5 separate regions of the Homo sapiens genome follow, and regions 2, 3, 4 and 5 are each linked to region 1. Evidence: promoter capture Hi-C in human tissues and cell types (Jung and others, 2019). All regions are on one chromosome and are shown on one strand. Each heading gives the region's core, a stretch centred on a gene start or on the middle of the fragment in contact. The rest is flanking DNA. Distances are from core to core; before and after follow the strand shown. Region 1 has its middle 11 kb from the start of ZNF749. Region 2 holds the start of ZNF814 (zinc finger protein 814). Region 3 holds the start of ZNF552 (zinc finger protein 552). Region 4 holds the start of USP29 (ubiquitin specific peptidase 29). Region 5 holds the start of ZNF586 (zinc finger protein 586).

Region 1 (3,923 bases), core at 131-2,630:
GCAATGAGCCGAGATCATGCCACTGCACTCCAACCTAGCGTTAGTGAGACTCTGTCAAAAAAAAAAAAAAAAATTATGTATGGATTTCAATTTTTTACACCAAAGTGAATTTGTAATAACTTGTTCTAACAAGTATGAACAGGATCTAGTTTGAGGCACTAAGAACGGCATCAGTTTGAAAACACCTTCTATCAGAGGAATGTGAATTCAGCTAAGGTTGAAGAAAGAACAAATATCAAATATATAGTAAAGCTTGGCTCTAAAAATGGTAAAACCGGCCGGGTGCGGTGGCTCGCGCCTGTAATCCCAGCACTTTGGGAGGCCGAGTTTGGGCGGATCACAAGGTCAGGAGTTCAAGACCATTCTGACCAATATGGTGAAACCCCATCACTACTAAAAATACAAAAATTAGCCGGGCGTGGTGGCGCATGCCTGTAATCCCAGCTACACAGGAGGCTGAAGCAGAAGAATCGCTTGAACCCAGGAAACGGAGGTTGCAGTGAGCTGAGATCGCGCCACTGCACTCCAGCCCAGACGACAGAGTGAGACTCCGTCTCAAAAAAAAGAAAAAGAAAAGTTTATGGGCACAATGACCCAGAGAAATCAGAGTTTACAAACTGATAACCTGTTTTCTTTTTTTTTAGACGGAGTCTCACTCTGTCGCCCATGCTGGAGTGCAGTGGCACGATCTCCACTCACTGCAACCTCCGCCTCCCGGGTTCACGCCATTCTCCTGCCTCAGCCTCCGGAGTAGCTGGGAGTACAGGCGCCCGCCACCACGCCCGGCTAATTTTTTGTATTTTTAGTAGAGACGGGGTTTCACTGTGTTAGCCAGGATAGTCTCGATCTCCTGACCTCATGATCCACCAGCCTCGGCCTCCCAAAGTGCTGGGATTACAGGCGTGAGCCACCGCGCCCGGCCTGATAACGTTTTAAGAAGAGATGAGATGATGTTGACCACGCAGCCCACAATGGCAAACCATTAATAACAATTTGCGAGGAAGAAATTCATCTTGCTCATGACCTTATTGAAGAAGACTGATGATTAACAGCAGAAACAGTAACTGACACCACAGACATCTGAATTGGTTCAGCTTACACAATTCTGACTGAAAAATTAAAGTTGTGCGAACTTTCCACTCAATGGGTGCCAAAGCCACTGAATCCAGATCAGCTGCAGACAAGAGCAGAACCTTCAATGTAAATGTTAAACAAGTAGGATCAAGATGCTGAAGCATTTCTTTGAAGAATTGTACAGATGAAACATGGCTTTATTATTAATTACTATTTGAGATGGAGTTTCACTCTTGTTGCCCAGGCTGGAGTGCAATGGTGTGATCTCGGCTCACTGCCACCTCCGCCTCCCGGGTTCAAGCGATTCTCCTGCCTCAGCCTCCTGAGTAGCTGGGATTACAGGCATGCACCACCTCGCCAGGCTAATTTTTGTATTTTTTAGTAGAGAGGGGGGTTTCTCCATGTTGGTCAGGCTGGTCTCAAACTCCTGAGCTCAGATGATCCGCCCAACTCGGCCTCCCAAATTGCTGGGATTACAGACGTGAGCCACGGCGCCCGCAATGAGAGTGTTTTGAGAAAGTTAGCTAAAGCTTTAGCAGAAAACCCATGGGAAAGCTTCACCAGGAGTCCTTCACTTCAATGCTCCTGCTCATTCCTCTCATCAAATAACTGCAACTTTACAAGAATTCTGATAACCCTAAGGCATCCACCTTACAGTCCGGATTTGGCTCCTTCTGACTTCTTGTTTCCTACTTTTAAAAAATCTTTAAAGGGCACCCATTTTTCTTTAGTTAATATTAAAAAAGATTGCATAGACAAGGTTAAATTCCCAGGAACCTCACTTCTTTAGGGATGGACTAAATGCCTGGTATCATCACTTATAAAATTGTCTTGAACTTGATGGAGCTTATGTTGAGAAATAAAACTTGTTTTCTTTTTGTATCCTTTACTTTCATGTTTCCACAAACTTTCTGAAGTCCCCACATATACTAAAAAACTCCTACATCTCAAAACCAAATAACCCTAAAGAAAAAAAAAAAACTCAACCCAGTAAAACTACTAAAAAAAAAAATTAATAATAAAGTTAAATTAAAAAATGATGCAGCTGCTATAGAAGAGTCCTCAAAAATTTTAAAACAGAATTAACATAGAATGGGAACATTGTGAGTCAGAAATTTAAAAAATTAAAAATATTTTTTAAATGAACATAGGGGGACAGGTGAGTGGATCATGAGGTCGAGATTGAGACCATCCTTGCCAACACGGTGAAACCCCGTCTCAACTAAACATACAAAAATTATCTGGGCATGGTGGTGCATGCCTGTAGTCCCAGCTACTTGGGAGGCTGAGGCAGGAGAACTGCTTGAACCCCGGAGGCAGAGGCTGCAGTGAGCTGAGATCAGGCCACTGTACTCCAGCCTGGCGACAGAGCGAGACTCCCGTCTCAAAAAACAAACAAACAAACAAACAAACAAAAAAAAAACATAGAAAGCACCAATTCTACTTCTGAGTAAATCCTCAAAAGGAATTTAAAGCACAGCCTCAAAGAAACATTTGTACATTCATGCTCATCTGCTATTAACAACAGCTGAGTGGAAACAACCCAAATGTCCACTAATGAAAGGAAAAGTGGCACATACATATATAATCATGCACCTCACTTTTCAGTCAACAATGGGCCACATTCATGACAGTGGTTCCATAAAATTACAATGAAGCTGAAAAATGCTTATTGCCTAATGACATGATAGCAGTAGTAAGGCAATATATTAATCACATATTCATGGTGATGCTGGTATAAACAAACCTACTGTGAGGCCAGTCATATAGAAGTATAACATATACAATAATGTACAGTAGATAAAACTTACGAGTTACTAGCTTATGTTCTTAGCATACTACACTTTTTATCATTAGGTGTTCTCCAACAGTAGAGTATATATGGAGTTGTGTGTATGTCTATAAATATACAGGTGTACATACACACAAACTGTAACACAGCCTCGGGCAGGTCCTTCAGGAGGTATTCCAGAAAAAGGCATTGTTATTTTAGATGACAGCTCCATGTGTGTTACTGTCCCAGAAGATCTTCTGGAACAGGTTGTGAAGGTGGAATAAAATGACATTATCCTGATCCTGTGCCGGCCTAGACAAATGTGTGTATCTTAGTTTTTAACAAAAAAAATTTAAGAAGTTAGGATATAAAAAATATTTTTGTACAGTTGTACAATGTTTTAAGCAAAACATTATTACAAAAGTCAAAAAGTTTTTAAAAATACAAGCTTATAAAGTAAAAAATGGTCAGCTAAGGTTAATATATTAAAGAAAAATTTCTATAAATTTAATTTTGTCCAGCCGGGCACGGTGGCTCATGCCTGTAATCCCAGCACTTTGGGAGGCCAAAGCGAGTGGCTCACTTGAGGTCGGGAGTTTGAGACCAGCCTGGCCAACATGGTAAGACCCCGTTCTCTACTAAAAATACAAAAATTAGCGGGGCATGGTGGTGCATGCCTGTAATCCCAGACACTTGGGAAGCTGAGGCAGAACTGCTTGAACCAGGAGGTGGAGGAGGTTGCAGGAAGCCAAGATTGCACCACTGCACTCTAGTCTGGGCAACAGAGCAAGATTCTGTCTCAAAAATAATAATAAAAATAAAAATGTATTGTCGTCTAAGTACACAATGTCTATAAAGTCTACAGCACAGTAACAACCTAGGCCTTCACATTCACTTACCACTCACTGACTCACCTAGAGCAACTTGCAGTACTGTAAGCTTCATTCATGGTAAGTTCTCTGTGAGTCTATCATTTTTTCTTTTATACTGTATTTTTACTGTACCTTTTCTGTTTAGATATACTTAAAAACAATTACTTACCATGTGTTCCAACAGCCTACAGTATTCAGTACAG
Region 2 (3,969 bases), core at 1,446-3,945, 460 kb before region 1:
CTCCATAGACAGAGCCGCCCGGCTAATTTTTTCGTATTTTTAGTAGAGATTGGGTTTCACCCTGTTGTTAGCCAGGATGGTCTCCATCTCCTGATCTCATGATCCTCCCACCTTGGTCTCCCAAAGTGCTGGGATTCCAGGGGTGAGCCACCATGCCTGGCATGGCTGCCCATTTTTATGGTTATTTCTTGATTTTTTTTTTTTTTTGAGGCGGAGTCTCACTCTGTCACCCAGGCTGGAGTGCAGTGGTGCAATCTCGGCTCACTGCAAGCTCCACCTCCCGGGTTCACGCCGTTCCCCTACCTCAGCCTCCCAAGTAGCTGGGACTACAGGCACCCGCCACCACGCCCAGCTAATTTTTTGTATTTTTAGTAGAGACAGGATTTCACCGTGTTAGCCAGGATGGTCTCGATCTCCTGACCTTGTGATCCACCCACCTCAGCCTCCCAAAGTGCTGGGATTACAGGCGTGAGCCACCGCGCCTGGCCCCTATTTCTTGATTATATCCTAAACAAAGGGTGGATTATTCATGCCTCCTTTTTTTAGACCATATAGGATAACTTCCTGATGTTGCCATGGCATTTGTAAACTGTCATGGCACTGATGGGAGTGTTGCAGTGAGGACGACCAGAGGTCACTCTCATGGCCATCTTGGTTTTGGTGGGTTTTAGCCGGCTTCTTTACTGCAAACTGTTTTATCAGCAACGTCTTTATGGCCTGTATCTTGTGCTGACCTCCTATCTCATCCTGTGACTTAGAATGTCTTCACTGTCTGGGAATGCAGCTCAGCCTCATTTTATCCAACCCCTATTCAAGACGGAGTTGCTCTGTTAAACACTTCTGACAGCTGTGGTTTCTTCCCACAAAGAGGTTGCAGATGGGGTTAGGTTCTTGTTCTGCCAGCTTGGCTCCTTCCCAATTCCTGTTAACTTACTGATTTATTAGGGCCCCATAGATTAGAAATTATCATTTAGGAGTCATGCAGCCAGGGGCCACAAGACTGTAAACATCCCCAGTTGTTCCTAGGGATGGTATCACCATTGCAAAAGCTAAGATTGGTGCTGGAGATATTTTTCAGACCCTGAACTTGATGGATCTGATGGCACCACTCAGATGGGTAAACTGGCTTATCTGGTCTTGTGCCTCCCTCTCCCCCAGAACCCACTCAGCACAAGAGAACAACTTTGACTCCCTATGATTTCATCTCCAACCCAACCAATCAGCATTCCCCAATTCATGGCCCCCTATCTACCAAATTATCCTTAAAAAACCCCAGTCTCAGGAGGCGGAGGTTGCAGTGAGCTGAGATCGTGACATTGCACTTCAGCCTGGGCAACAGGAGCAAAATTCTGTCTCAGAAAACAAACAAACAAATAAACAACAACAACAACAAAAAACCCCAGTCTCGCAATTTTCAGGGAGACTGATTTGAGTAATACTAGTAAGACTCCAGTATGCTGTTCATCCAACTCTGTGTGAATAAAACTCTTTTTCTTTTGCAATTTCCCTGTCCTGATAAATTGGCTTTATCTGGGCAGTAGGAAAAATGAACCCTCTGGGTGTTTACACGTTCATTTTAACAATACAATAATGGTTATTAATCTTTGCATTAATCTTTGCTTCCAGTGGAAGAATTTTGCATCTGAAGGACCATCTGAAATGATAGGTGAATTTGGATCTGTAGCCTTTGGGAACATCTACACTAACTCTGAAATAATATTTTTCCATACACTAGGGTAATCAGTTACAGCCAATAACCCCAAGAAATCTCAATGTGAGTTCTAAGGAGAGGCAGGATGATCCTCTGCCTAGGAGAAAGATCTGCAATCTTTTATTTATTTTTTTATTTTTATTTTTATTTTTTTTTCCAACATGGAGTCTTGCTGTGTCACCCAGGCTGGAGTGCAGTGGCAGGATCTCACTCACCGCAACCTCTGACTCCCATGTACAAGAGATTCTCCTGCCTCGGCCTCCCCAGTAGCTGGGATTACAGGCGCATGTCACCATGTGGGTTAATTTTTGTATTTTTAGTAGAGGCGGGGTTTCACCATGTTGGCCAGGCCAGTCTTGAACTCCTGACCTCAGGTGTTCCACCTGCCTCGGCCTCCCAAAGTGCTGGGATTACGGGCGTGAGCCGCCCGCACCTGGCCCTTATTTTTATTTTTTAGATAAGAGGTCTCGTTCTGTTGCCCAGGCTGGAATGCAGTGGTACGATCTCGGCTTACAGCAGCTTCGAACTCCTGAGCTCAAGCGATTCTCCCTCCTCAGGCTCCCTAACCCTAACCCCAACCTTAGGGCAGCTGGGACCACAGGCCCGCCCGACCACACTCCGCTAATATTTTTTATTTTTTGTAGAGACAGGATTTTGCTTTGTTGCTCAGGCTAATTTCTAACTCCTGACCTCAAATGATCCTTGTGACTTGGCCTCCCAAACTGGTGGAATTACAGGCGGGAGCCACCATACCAGTCAGGACGCACATCTTAAGGATACTCCCGAGGTGAAGCTGGGCTTTTCCTGCAGAAGCGCCTCTGGGAATTGCGCCCTTTACCCTCCTTGTTGCCTAGGGAACTACATTACCCAGAAAACTCAGCCTCGAATGATAGCGTAGAAGACCTCTGAGGGCTCAGAATAAAGGCGTTTCCTGTGTGCACGTGACAATGGGTCCGGACTTCCGGCGCCCTCTGGTGGCGGCCATTTTGATTGGTGTTGGATTTATTTGTAGGAGAGGCTCCTGAGCGCTAGGTCCGCACTGTGGTGACTGAACCCAGAAGTCGGGGAGCAGTTGTCCTCCGCTGCACAGAGGCTACTCTGGAGCTCTGTGACGGCGCCCAGCGTGACCCACTCCTGGGCCAGGATACGGACCGTCGTGCCCATATCTCCTGGCTGGTCGCCCTATCCTCCCGACTCTGCTTAAAACCACGTGGTTCGATGGCTGCCGCGGCTACGCTGAGGCTCTCCGCTCAGGTAATTGTGGGGCCTTCTGTGTCCTCAGGTCACCTCATCGTCACCCAAAAGCAGCGAGGTAGCAGCGCCTGTTCACGGCTCTGCAGCCCGGACGCCGGCGTTGGGACACTGAGGCGCTTGCGGGAGGGGCCCCATTTCTGACACCCGTGGGATGCGGTGGGGAGACCGGCAGGTACAGGGACTGGCGCGGGCAAAGGCCTGGAAGTGAACTGAGCCAGAAGGATGGAATCTGGGGTCCACAGGTGCCTGTTGGGAGCAAATTATGAGGCGGAGCTCCTCCTGGAAGAGCAAGCAGGCTGGGGGCTATGAACTCACGTGAGGACCCTAGAAGGCATGGAGATTTTCGAAGAAAGGAGGGATGTCATGAGCATTGTAAGGGTAGAGATAATCAGGTCCATGCATGTTTGTGTCTTTGCACAGTGTCAGGTGATATTTGAGTCAACAAAAGCCATGAGCTAAATGGAGTTCGAAGGAGGCAATTCTCTTGTGATTCCAGTTCACTTGGTAGTTGGCCATGGGCACAGAGGCTGAAGACACTCCCCAAGTCAGTCAATATAGCAAACAATACACAATAGTATACTTAACATGTAAATGTTAAAGGTTAAACATAACACTGTTGTACCCGGGCGAGTTAGAAAAACGCCACACTTTGAGACGAATTAAGAGTCCTTTATTCAGCTGGCGGCCAAAGAGACGGCTAACGCTCAAAATTCTCTCGGCCCCGAGGAAGGGGCTTGATTAACTTTTATACTTTGGTTTAGGAAGGGGAGGGGAGCTTAAATGCAACAACTCTTCAGAAGTAAAAACATGCAAAAAATTAAAAGGATAAATGGTTACAGAGAAACAAACAATTTAAAAGACAAATGGTTACAAAAAGGCAAGGTACCAGGTGTGGCGCTCTAAATCCTTCATAAGAGTTAGATATGGGCACTACGCCAGACACAAACTCAAGGCTTTATGGTGTTATCTTTTGAGCAAAATCCTGGGAACTTCATACATGGTTT
Region 3 (4,242 bases), core at 1,181-3,680, 390 kb before region 1:
GGCCGAGGCGGGTGGATCACCAGGTGAGGAGTTTGAGACCACCCTGGCCAATATGGTGACACCTCGTCTCTACTAAAAGTACAAAATTAGTTGGGCGTGGCGGCACGCACCTGTCATCCCAACTACTCAGGAGGCTGAGGCAGAAGAATCACTTGAACCCAGGAGGCAGAGGTTACAGTGAGCCAAGATTGAGCCGTTGCACTGTAGCCTGGGCGACAGAGCGAGACTCTGTGTGAAAAAAAAAAACAAAAAACACTGACTAGGTAATTATTCAACAGTTCTGACAGAAGTAGTTCTGAGGAAACATCAGTAGATGGTGAAAAAACTTAGGGCCTCAGAGAAATGTTAGCACTGATGTCTAAGAGATGGAATTATGCTCAGCACATAATTGGAATGGTCACTCTGATGGTTTTGGCTTCAAAATGAGATTCTTCTTTTTTTTTTTTTTTTTTTTTTTGAGGTGGAGTCTCACTCTGTCGCTGTATAAAATGGACCAATCAGCAGGATGTGGGTGGGGTCAAATAAGGGAATAAAAGCTGGCCAGCCAGTAGCAGCAACCCGCCCAGGTCCCCTTCCACACTGTGGAAACTTTGTTCTTTCGCTCTTCGCAATAAATCTTGCTGTTGCTCACTCTTTGGGCCCGCACTGCCTTTATGAGCTGTAACACTCACCGCGAAGGTCTGCCACTTCACTCCTGAAGCCAGCGAGACCACGAACCCACCAGAAGGAAGAAACTCTAGACACATCTGAACACCTGAAGGAACAAACTCCAGACATACCATCTTTAAGAACTTTAACACTGCCCGTGAGGGTCTGCGGCTTCATTCTTGAAGTCAGCGAGACCAAGAACCCACCGGAAGGAACCAATTCTGGACACAATACCTTTCAAACAAGGGACCTGTCCAGGCTTCCTTCTGATGACCAACCCACCTCTAATGCTGGCCAGTCTATTTCACACAAAGTTCTAAGTTTTCCTGGTGTCATAGTAACACTGTAATCTCCCTTAAATCCTTTCTTGAAATGTTTCAACATAGTTCCTAGTGAAGTGGGCTTACTTTGTGCCTGACCCATGCTTCTTTGAGACAAAACACCACGCTCACACCACACGCACACCACAAAACAAAGAACAGGTAAAAAGGGCACACATACACTTTTACCGTTTACACCAAACCAGAATCAAAATCCAAATCAGAGTATCCAGAAATCCAAGCCAGGTCAAAACCAAAACGAAAGTATCAAGCAATCCAAATCAAGTCAAAAACAAAAACCAAAGTGCCGGTACAGGCATGCCGTGGGTGATCAGGCCACCCTTCCACTCAAATGGAGTGGGCAAGTTCCAAAGACTAGTCTTACCAAGTTTCAGATGTCCGGACTCCAAGTGCCTGTTCCTTCCCAGTGTTCAGCCGCTGCATTGATCCTCTGTGGGGGCCTGCCACACGCCACTCTGGCGAGGTGTTCCACTGGGGCAATTGCCTACCCGGGAGTGCTCTCAGGTTCTGCGTCCCTCAAGCTGGCCAGAGTCCCCTGTAGGGATGCTCCACAGGGCAGGCCTAAGCTGCCTAAGGGGCTGCCTCGACTATCTGTTAATCACCTGGCTTCCCAGTCAGGGAACCAAGAAATGTAGCAGGACAAGCCGCAGGGCTGTATTCAGCCTGGAGCTTTGGCAAGACTCACATCTCCAACTACCAAGCTCCCCAAGTGAGGAATTCCTGTCCCTTTTAAGGGCTTACAACTCTAAGGGGGTCCACATGAGAGGTTTGTGATCGATTGAGCAAGCAGGGGGTACACGACTGGGGGCTGCATGCAGTGGTAATCAGAACGGAACAGAACAGGACAGGGATTTTCACAATGCTTTTCCATACAATGTCTGGAATCCATAGATAACATAACCGGTTTGGTCAGGGGTCGATCTTTAACCAGGCCCAGGGTTGGCACCTGGCTGTCTGCCTGTGGATTTCATTTCTGCCTTTTAGTTTTTACTTGTTTCTTTGGAGGCAGAAATTGGGCATAAAACAATATGAGAGGTGGTCTCCTCCCTTAACAGCACAAACGCTTAATTAACATTTCTTTTTCTTTTGAGACAGGTTCTGTCGCCCAGGCTGGAGTGCAGTGGTGCAGTCATAGCTCAGTGCAGCCTGGACCACCTGGGCTCAAGCAGTCCTGACACCTCAGCCTCTCAAAATTTGGGATTACAGGCGCGCGCCACCGTGCGGGTCAGGAGGCTTCCCTGAGGGCCCCGGAGGTGGAGCTGGGCTTTTCCTTCCGAAGCGCCCCTGGGAATCTCTCTCTTTACGGCCTTGGAACCTGGGAAACTACATTACCCAGAAAGCTCTGCGTCAAATGACAGCACGGCAGAGCCAGTGAGAGTTCACATTGAAGGCGTTTCCGTGTGCGCAAGTAAGGTAGAGGCGGGACTCCCGGCGCCCTTTAGTAGCGACCATTTCCATTGGCGTTAGGGAGTCCTTGGAGCGCTGTGTTGGGACCGTGGTGGTGACTGGATCCAGGAGGTCGAGAGTCGTTCTTCTCTTTGCACAGACGTGACTCTGCAGCTCTTTAACGGCGCCCGCTGCTCTCAACCCAGCTTACCCCACGTGGTCCCATGGCGGCGGCCGCGCTAAGGTTCCCCGTTCAGGTAATTGTGGCGCCTTCCGTGCTCTCCGGTCACCTCCTAGTCACACAAGTCCTAAAGCAGCGAGGGAGCGGCACCTGTTTACGGCTCTGCAACCCGGACCCGGCGTCGGGACACTGAGGCGCTCTCGGGAGGGATCCCTGTTTCAGACACCCGTGGGATGCGGTGGGGAGAGCGACAGGTACAGGGAGGGGCGCGGGCAATGGCCTGGAGATGGACGGATCCGGGAGGATGGAACCTGGGGTCCACAGGCGCCTGTAGGGAACAACCTGTGAGGCGGAACTCCTCCTGGAAAAGCAAGGAGGCTGGGGGCTGTGAAATCATTGCGAGGACACTAGAAATAGGAGAATTTCCAAGAAAGAAGGGACTGGATCAAAGTCCAGGCTTTTAAAGTTTCCTAAAGGCCAAATAAATAACAGAGTAGAGAGGGGATGACGTTGGGGCCCTTTGAGATTGAATCCTTGTAGATCATATAGGTGGTAGAGATGACACTTTGTGCTGAGACACGCAGGTTAGACAATAGTCCAAGGTCACCTGGCTCCGTGGACACAAAAGCGTTCAGGGAGGCCTGAGCTTACCAGATCCTATCAGGGACACAGTCCTGTAAAGTCAGCCTCTTCCCTCAGGCCTTTATGGCTGTAGAAGCATTTAAGGAACGCATACAAGAAAGTGGAGGGTGGGGCCGGGTGCAGTGGCTCACTCCTGTAATCCCAGCACTTTGGGAGGCCTAGGCGGGTTGGTCCGGAGGTAGAGACCAGCCTGACCAACCATGGAGAAACCCTGTCTCTACTAAAAATACAAAATTAGCCAGGCGTGGTGGCGCATGCCTGTAATCCCAGCTACTTGGGAAACTGAGGCAGCAGACTCGCTTGAACCCGGGAGGCGGAGGTTGCGTGAGCCGAGATCGCGCCATTGCACTCCACCCTGGGTGACAGAGCGAGACTCCGTATCAAAAAAAAAAAAAAAAAAAAAAAAAAAAGAATGAGGTGCGTTCAGAGAGGGTATCTCTGCTGTGCTGAAGGTGCCACATTGGGCTTTCCATGACCTCGGCCATACTAGGGGAAGTGCCTGTCAGGAGGGGGTGGACTCTTATATCACAGCCACCGCACAGATACCTATTTGTTCAACTAACTATTGTTGTTGGTGGCTGTACCCCATGACCAGTGGGCCTAGTTTCTCCTATGTTTGAGGACCTTGAGAGGAGGATGTGCGAGAGTAGATGTGTGGGAGAGATGGATTGTGATACCTCAGCATAGGGGTGGTTTGTGGTTTCATCTGTCAACATCATAACAGGGCACAGTGACTTTTGAAGACGTGGCTGTGAAATTTACCCAGGAGGAATGGAATCTCCTTAGTGAGGCTCAGAGATGCCTGTACCGTGATGTGACGCTGGAGAACCTGGCACTTATGTCCTCCCTGGGTAAGTTGCCCACACTCACCCCTGTGACCTGAGCTAGTCTCTGTCTTTCCCCCTCTTTTTCTATTGGCAAGACTTTCTCATGTCAGGAGCATGGACACAGCTTCCTACTTCAGTTCTTGGTTGGTAGGACTGAGGTATGCATACTGCCCTCTCCATTCTTGGAGCAGCCCCAACACCTGCTATTGAGCTCCCA
Region 4 (4,166 bases), core at 1,036-3,535, 300 kb after region 1:
TATTCCCAGGTGGCTCCACCCATATCACGGGTTTTTCCAGGAAATACGTTTCTTGATTAACTTATCTCTGTGTAAGAGTTTAAAATATTTGTCTAGAAAAGGCTAGATAGTGACTTATTTTACTTTATTTCAATTGGTAATTAAAAACTTTTATTTAGAAATCATTGCAAATATACATAAGAATTGCAAGATTAGTAGAAATAACTTATATTCCCTTCACCCAAATTTACCAATTGTGTATATTTTGCCACATCTGTCTGCTTTCTCTCTCCCTCTTTTGATGTTCTATGTATCTATCTATCTATCTATCTATCTATTTTTTAATAGAGACAAGGTCTTGCTATGTTGCCCAGGTCTCGAACTCCTGACCTCCAGTAATCCACCCGCCTCAGCCTCCCAAAGTGCTGGGATTACAGGCTTGAGCCACCATGCCCAGACATGTTCAAGTCCCTTATATAACAGGATATACTTTTACTCCACTTAATGTTTACCTGTTTTCTTTGTAGTAACCGTGCTTTTTGTTTTATATATATATAATTATATATATATAACATATATGTATATATATAACATATGTAAGTACATATAACATATGTAAGTATATATAACATATGTAAGTATATATAACATATAAGCATATATAACATACATATAAGCATATATAACATATATAAGTATATATAACATACATATAAGTATATATATAACATATATAAGTATACATAGCATATATAAGTATATATAGCATATATAAGTATATATAACATATATAAGTATATATAACATATAAGTATGTATAACATGTATAAGTATATATAACATATATAAGTATATAACATAAGTATATATAACATATAAGTATGTATAACATATATAAGTATATATAACATATATAAGTATATAACATAAGTAGATATAACATATATAAGTATATATAATATATAAGTACATAACATATATAAGTATATAACATATATAAGTATATATAACATATATAAGTATATATATAACATATATATCCTACATTTTCAACACGTGTAACAAATGTGGATAGTTTCAAAAAGATCATTTTACGTTCTAGTAGTTACCCTGTTTGACCAAAGTGTAGTACTTTTATTTTTCTATTGCAGTGCATTTTCTTTTTTTTTTTTGGCGGGAGGTGAGGGAGCGGAGCGGGGATGGAGTCTCACTCTGTCACCGAGGCTGGAGTTTAATGGCGTGATCTCGGCTCACTGCAGCCTCTGCTTCCTGGGTTCAAGTGATTCTCCTGCCTAAGCCTCCTGAGTAGCTGGGATTACAGGAGCCCGCCACCACGCCTGGCTAATTTTTTGTATTTTTAGTAGAGACGGGGTTTCGCTATGTTGCCCAGGCAGTCTCGAACTCCTGATCCGCCCGCCTTGGCCTCCCAAAGTTCTGGAATTACAGGAGTGAGCCACCGTGCCCGGCCTTTTTTCTGTTTTTTTTTTTTTTTTTTTTTTTTTGAGACGGAGTCTCTCGCTCTGTCGCCCAGGCTGGAGTGCAGTGGTGTGATCTCGGCTCACTGCAACCTCCACCTCTGGGGTTCAAGTGATTCTCCTGCCTCAGCCTCCCCAGTAGCTGGGATTACAGGCACCCACCATCATGGCCAGCTAATTTTTGTATTTTTAGTAGAGACAGGGTTTCACCTTGTTGGTCAGGCTGGTCTCAAACTCCTGACCTCAGGTGATCTACCCGCCTCGGCCTCCCAAAGTGCTGGCATGACAGGCGTGAGCCACCGACCCAGCCCTTTTTTCTTTTATATAGTTTTTGAGACAGGGTCTTGCTCTGTTGCCCAGGCTGGAGTGCAGTGGTGCGATCATACCTCACTACACCCTCGATCCCCAAGGCTCAAGTCATCCTCCAACCTCTGCCTCCTGACTATCTGACACTACAGGCGTGGGTAATTTTTAAATTTTTTTGAGACATAGTCTCACTTTGTTGTCCAGGCTGGAGTGCAGTGGCATGATCTCAGCTAGCTAATTTTAAAATTTTTTGTAGAGATGGGTGGGGGGAGGGTCTCACTATGTTGCCCAGGCTGGTCTCCAACTCCTGGGCACAAGCGATCCTCCCGCCTCGGCCTCCCAAAGTGCTGGGATTACAGGCATGAGCCTGGCCAGCATTTTCTGTTTGAATGTTTTTACGTAACCGGAGTCGTCATGATGGAGGTACAGTTCCTTGGACTTCCGGCTCCCATGGCTCTGGAAATCTCAGCTCGGACCCGCCCCTTCCGGCGCCGACTCCCCTGATTCTCCTGGGAACAGAAGAGTTCTGGGCACAGCACGCTGCGTCTGCGCAGTGCCGGGCGCAGGCCTCCCGACCTACGGGTCTAGGTACGGGCTCTAGCGTGGCCGGGGCACATAGAGTTCCTGGCCTAGAGCTGGTGGGGCGTAACGGCAGGAGTTAGGGTTCAGAGAAAACCAGCCCAGGGGCGGGTTCATCCTGTTACCCATTCAGCCTCAAGCGAGGTGGGGTGTGGTAGGTGGGCTGGTGCTAGAAACCACGCCGGGAATTGTTAATAACAGTCATCCCGGCCGGGCGCGGTGGCTCACGCCTGTCATCCCAGCACTTTGGGAGGCCGAGGAGGGCGGATCACCTGAGGTCAGGAGTTTGATATTAGCCTGACCAACGTGGCGAAACCCCGTCTCTACTAAAAATACAAAAATCAGCCGGGCATGGTGGTGGGCGCCTGTAATCCCAGCTACTCGGGAGGCTGAGGCAGGAGAATCGCTTGAACCCGGGAGGCGGAGGTTGCAGTGAGCGGAGATGGCGCCACTACAATCCAGCCTGGGCGACAGAGCGAGACTCCGTCTCAAAACAACAACAAAACCCCCAAAAAAGCGGTCATCCTCCAGGTGGAAGAGACAGAAGAGAGGGTGCGGAAGAGACTTAAAAGTCTTAGGCCTTCAAGCGTGTTTGCCTCAGCCACCCGTGAATCCTACAGGAAAACTAAAACAACTCGGCCACAAGCCCCCAAGTCTTGGGGAAGCGGACGGTTTCCCAGCCGAGCTTTAGGAGGAGGCGCCGCGGGACCTCACGGGTGACGTCGTCCCCGGGGGTAGTTTGCGCAGAGGGTCGCTTTGGGCGCGCTTAGAGTCGCGTGGTGCCTGGGCCAGCGAAGCCCAGGTGCAGTCATTTGTGGCCCTGTCCCGGCGCGCGAGGGGCCAAGGCTGGTCGGGGGCCGGGTCCGCGCGGTAGCAACTGCGTCCTGCCAGCTTCCATCTCTCCCTCTGAGGGCCTGAGCGGCTGCCAGAGTCAGGTCTGCAGGCCGGGCGCTCACGCGTCTGTGCCCAGTGAGGCCCCAAGATGCTGGTGAGGCCTCGACCCTGACTGGTGTCCAGGCTCTTGACACTGTCGTGAGAAGGAATTCATGGATGAGCAGAACAAAGTGTGGAGATTCATTGCGACGGGAATAAGTACGTACTGAAGAAAGAAAAGTGCAGGCATACCACAGAGCATCACGCCCAGCGGGGTTTGGAGCTACCTTTAAATATTTATTTAACCAAGGGGTGGAATATTCATGAAGATTCTTGGAAAAAGGTAAACATTTCTTGGTACTGCGGTGCCACACATTTTTATACTAAATACGGGTGTTCCCCAGAGCTGTCACAGTGGGTGTGTGACTTAGTATGTTAATGAGCACATAATGAGAGGTCCTAGGTGAAACGGGTCGAATCCAGCACCATGTTGGGTCCAGTCGGCTTTAGCCAGCTTGGCCCACACCCTGGTTTTCAGAGTCTTATCCGCCCCTAGCTTACGCAGCGATTTCAACGGTTTCCTTTGCTAGTCATGTGAAACTGTTGCCTGGAATTTTCCGTTCTCCTGTGACCACCTTTATTATTCCTGTCTCAAGGGGCACCCCATTTGTGCCTATAAGGAGACTGCATTGGGACCAGGCTCCTGGCTGCTCATGGAGCCTCAGCCAGATGGTTGTGTGCCTGAGTCCTGTGTTCATTCCACAAACATGCAGCAAGGCTGCGTGGGTTGGAGCCCTGCCTCCAGCGCTTCCCTGCTGCATGACACTGGCAAGTTGCTTAAGCTCTCTGTACCCCATTTCCTCCTCAATAAGGCAGGGATGGTGATCGTACTAGTTCCAAAGGATTATTGTGAGAATTAACATAATACATGAGTTAACACGTATAAAATGCCTA
Region 5 (4,075 bases), core at 668-3,167, 350 kb before region 1:
AGTTCCTGGGTGAACCCTCCACATGTGTTACATTAGTTGACAGACATAGCAACAACTCCCCATAACCTATGTCACTGATGTAGGTTTGGGGTTTGAGGTTTTTCCAAGATCCCCAGATTGAAGGACCGGAGAAATGGCACTTAAGTGTCCTAGGAGGTGCGGTAGTTCCTGCTTGGCATCCCAGCACTTTGGGAAGCCGAAGCAAGAGGACTGCTTGAGCCCAAGGGTTCGAGACTAGCCTGGGCAACATGGCGAAACCCCATCTCTCTCTCTCTCTTTTTTTTTTTTTTTTCAGACGGAGTCTTTCTCTGTCGCCCAGGCTGGAGTGCAGTGGCGCGATCTCGGCTCACTGCAACCTCTGCCTCCCGGGTTCAAGCGATTCTCCTGCCTCAGCCTCCCAAGTAGTTGGGACTACAGGTGTGTGCCACCAGGCCTGGCTAATTTTTTGTATTTTTAGTAGAGGGGGGATTTCACCGTGTTAGCCAGGATGGTCTCAAACTCCTGACCTCGTGATCCGCCCGCCTCGGCCTCCCAAAGTGCTAGGATTACAGGCGTGAGCCACCGCGCCCGGCCGTGAAACCCCACCTCTACTAAAAATACAAAAAGCCAGTTACTCGGGAGACTGAGATGAGAGGCTCTCCTGAGCCCGGAGAGGTCGAGGCCGTGCTGCGCCGTGATCGCGTCACCGCAACCCAGCCTGGGTGTTGAGTGAGAACCCGTCGCCGAAAAAAAAAAAAGATGCCAAGATCTAGACATGTGGGATAGGATGAGGACCAGTGAAGGACTAGAGCATCCCCTACTTCCTACTGTGGATTCTGTAAGTGCTTCTGTAGCCATGAGGTGTGCCAAAAGGCAGGGCTTTCACAAATGTGTCTGTGCTCGGATTTGATAGACTCAGGCTTCTCTGTAAGCTTTTTTTGGCCCTGCAGCCAGATGACTTCAGACTGAGTCTCTAATCTTGTGGCCCAGTGCTCAATGTCACCTCTCAATGATTCAACCTCTCAATGTCCTCATCACTGCCTTCAACTCTGTTCTTCCTTCGAACATCTTTTGGGAATCGCAACTCTAACACAGATTTCCTCCTTTGTTCAAAACTGTCCATGGCTTTTAGCGTCCTCACAGTCAAAGTTCAACCCTCAGCCTGGTACTGAAGAAACAACTCCGCCTCGGCCAGGCGCGGTGGCTCACGCCTGTATTCCCAGCACTTTGGGAGGCCGAGGTGGGCGGATCACCTAAGGTCAGGAGTTCGAGGCCAGCCTAGCCAACATGGTGAAACCCCGTGGTGGCGCATGCCTGTAATCCCAGCTACTCGGGAGGCTGAGGCAGGAGAATCGCTTGAACCGGGGAGGTGGAGCTTGCAGTGAGCCGAGATCGCGCCACTGCACTCCAGCCTGGGCGACAGAGTGAGACTCCGTCTCAAAAAAAAAAAAAAAAAGAAATAACTCCGTATCACACTTCTTTCCCAGTAGACACACGATGTCCCCGTGTTCCGCATCCTCCTGCCTCAGTCGCGCCTGCAGGCCTTTGCCCTCCGCCAGTCTCGCTCTGCCGACCGCATCAACTGGGTGTCGGAAACAGGGATCCCACCCGCCGGCGCCTCTCCGTCCCTGACAGAGGCCTGGGCTGCAGGGACGCGAGGAGGCGGCCCTCACGATCAGGGGCCTCAGGGTCTGGGTGGGTAGGGTGGGTAAGGCCCGGAGGTCGCAGCGCTCACCTGAGCAGGCGCCCTCAGAGCGGCTGCTGCCGCCATGACTCTGGGCGGGGGGGGAACGCGGGCTCGGCGGTGTTCCTGTCGTTGTCCTGTCCCGGGTCGCGACCAGCGGCGTCGCCGAACCTCAGATCCGCCTGTGTGCAATGGCCACAACCACTCCTCCCGAGCTCGTCCAGACCCAGCATCGCCGGATGGACCTGACAGGCCAAAATGGCTGCCACGGCTAGGACGCCGGAAGTCCTGGCTTGACTTTACGTGCCCCGGCAATGGCACGGCTTCTCTGAAGCTTCATTGGCTCAGCCACGTTACCATTTCGCAGGGCGGATTCTGGGTAATGTAGTTCCCAGACATGGGCAGCGCTTAAGGTGGCTTTCTTCCGACTTTCCGAAGAAAGGGGCAAGCTCCACTGCGAGGGGCGCTAGGAAATGGCGACTCCAGGTCCAGATGCGGAGGAGGGTCTCCCATCTTAGAAGAGGCCATACGCACATTTCTGGGGGTACTGTGTGCAACTGATTGCCCGCGTGTTTGGAGACTTCTTATTTCAGAATTTGTGATGCTCGGCTTCTTCCTTTTTTTTTTTTTTTTGTCTTTTTTTTAAGACATAGTTCTCTCTGTCACTCAGGCTGGGGTGCAGTGGTGTGATCTTGGCTCACTGCAGCCTATGCCTCCCGGGTTCAAGCGATTCTCGTGCCTCAACCATCCGAGTAGCTGGGATTACAGGCGTGTGCCACCATACCCTGCTAATTTTTGTATTTTTAGTAGAGACGGGGTTTCCTCATTTTGGCCAGGCTGGTCTCGAACTTCTGGCCTCAAGTGATCTGCCTGCAATGGTCTACCGAAGTGCTAGGATTACAGGCGTGAACCACCGTTCTCAGCCCATTAGCAACACTTTTATTTATATCTTTAACCTACAGATTCCTCTAGAAATCTGATATCAACATCAAAAAGCTAATGAGACAAATGCTATTATGTTACAGGACAATGGCTGCGGTGTTCAAACATGGAGTATGTATGCATGAGAGAAGAGAGAGACCCTCTCACATTGTTTTATATTCAGTAAAAACAACAAGGAAGTAAAACCAAAGACAGGCAACCCCGCGCCAGGCCCGAAACCAGGCCTAGGCCCGCCTGGCCTAAACCCAGTAGTTAAAAATCAACTTATGATTTAGAAGCCGATGTTATTCATAGATTCCTTAGATTGTATAGAAGAACATTGTGAAACTCCCTGCCCTGTTCTGTTCCTCCCTGACCACCGGTGCATGCAGCCCCTGTCACATACCCCTTGCTTGCTCAAATCAATCACGACCCTTTCATGTGAAATCTTTAGTGTTGTGAGCCCTTAAAAGGGACAGAAATTGTGCACTCCGGGAGCTCAGATTTTGAGACAGTAGCTGGCCAATGCTCCCAGCTGAATAAAGCCCTTCCTTCTGCAACTCGGTGTCTGAGAGGTTTTGTCTGCGGCTCGTCCTGCTACATGCACAGGGTGCTTTTACACTGAGATATTTCAAGTGCCTTAAATCCATGCGTTCACCTCTTTGCTGGCAAGTGCTTATCATTGTCAGTGGCATTGGAATCAGAGTGACTCCATCTTGAAAATGGGCTGGATAAAGTAAGGCTGAGAAATACTCGGCTGCATTCCCAGGTTAGGCATTCTTAGTCACAGGATGAGATAGGAGGTTGGCACAAGATGCAGGTCACAAAGACCCTGCTGATAAAACAGGATGCAGTAAAGAAGCTGGCTAAAACGCACCAAAACCAAGATGGTGATGAAAGTGACCTGTGGTCATCCTCACTGCTCATTATACGCTAATTATAATGCATTAGCATACTAACTCCCGCCAGCGCCATGACAGTATACCAATGCCCTGGCAATGTTTGGAAGTTACCCTATATAGTCTAAAAAGGGGAGGGAACCTCAGTTCTGGGAAATCTCCACCTCTTTTTTTTTTTTTTTTTTTGAGATGGAGTCTCGCTCTGTCACCCAGGCTGGAGTGCATTGCTGCGATCTCGGCTCACTGCAACCTCCGCCTCTTGGCCAAGTTCAAGTGATTTTCCTGTCTCAGCCCCCCGAGCAGCTGGGATTATAGGCGCCTGCCACCGCGCCCAACCTGTAAAATTTTCTATACTTAAAAAAAAAGTTGGCTGGGCGCGGTGGCTCACACCTGTAATCCCAGCACTTTGGGAGGCCGAGGCGGGCGGATCACGAGGTCAGGAGATCGAGACCATCCTGGCTAATATGATGAAACCCCGTCTCTACTAAAAATACAAAAAAATTAGCTGGGCGTGGTGGCAGGCGCCTGTAGTCCCAGCTACTCCGGAGCCTGAGGCAGGAGAATGGCTTGAACCCGGGAGGCGGAGGTTGCA

What was found. Contacts are between HindIII fragments. The study calls those that stand out against the background at their distance.
Region 2: the fragment with the promoter of ZNF814 here is called in contact with a fragment that was not itself captured in region 1 in 2 of the 25 tissues and cell types used here (dorsolateral prefrontal cortex and spleen).
Region 3: the fragment with the promoter of ZNF552 here is called in contact with a fragment that was not itself captured in region 1 in 1 of the 25 tissues and cell types used here (spleen).
Region 4: a contact is called between the fragment with the promoter of USP29 here and a fragment that was not itself captured in region 1, in 3 of the 25 tissues and cell types used here (adrenal gland, dorsolateral prefrontal cortex and psoas muscle).
Region 5: the fragment with the promoter of ZNF586 here is called in contact with a fragment that was not itself captured in region 1 in 2 of the 25 tissues and cell types used here (dorsolateral prefrontal cortex and stomach).

The regions. Positions count from the first base shown.
Region 1 is chr19:57,422,069-57,425,991 of GRCh38, reverse strand. No RefSeq gene overlaps it. Among named protein-coding and RNA genes, the nearest start is that of ZNF749, 11 kb to the left of the region's middle. The HindIII fragment of the contact is 4,324 bases long and covers 1-3,542 here.
Region 2 is chr19:57,887,763-57,891,731 of GRCh38, reverse strand. It overlaps ZNF814 (zinc finger protein 814), which reads left to right and starts at 2,695. Exons shown (of 3, transcript NM_001144989.2): 1 at 2,695-2,965. The coding sequence starts at 2,930. RefSeq lists enhancers at 2,985-3,034, 2,708-3,250, 3,251-3,794, 3,819-3,969. The HindIII fragment of the contact is 24,676 bases long and covers 1-3,969 here.
Region 3 is chr19:57,813,101-57,817,342 of GRCh38, reverse strand. ZNF552 (zinc finger protein 552) reads left to right here and starts at 2,430. Exons shown (of 3, transcript NM_024762.3): 1 at 2,430-2,632; 2 at 3,923-4,049. The coding sequence starts at 2,600. RefSeq lists an enhancer at 2,106-2,155. The HindIII fragment of the contact is 37,727 bases long and covers 1-4,242 here.
Region 4 is chr19:57,118,104-57,122,269 of GRCh38, reverse strand. It overlaps USP29 (ubiquitin specific peptidase 29), which reads right to left and starts at 2,285. Exons shown (of 4, transcript NM_020903.3): 1 at 2,041-2,285. The HindIII fragment of the contact is 14,839 bases long and covers 1-4,166 here.
Region 5 is chr19:57,767,518-57,771,592 of GRCh38, reverse strand. It overlaps ZNF586 (zinc finger protein 586), which reads right to left and starts at 1,917. Exons shown (of 3, transcript NM_017652.4): 1 at 1,715-1,917. The coding sequence starts at 1,750. RefSeq lists enhancers at 1,683-1,932, 1,654-2,193. The HindIII fragment of the contact is 4,771 bases long and covers 1-3,236 here.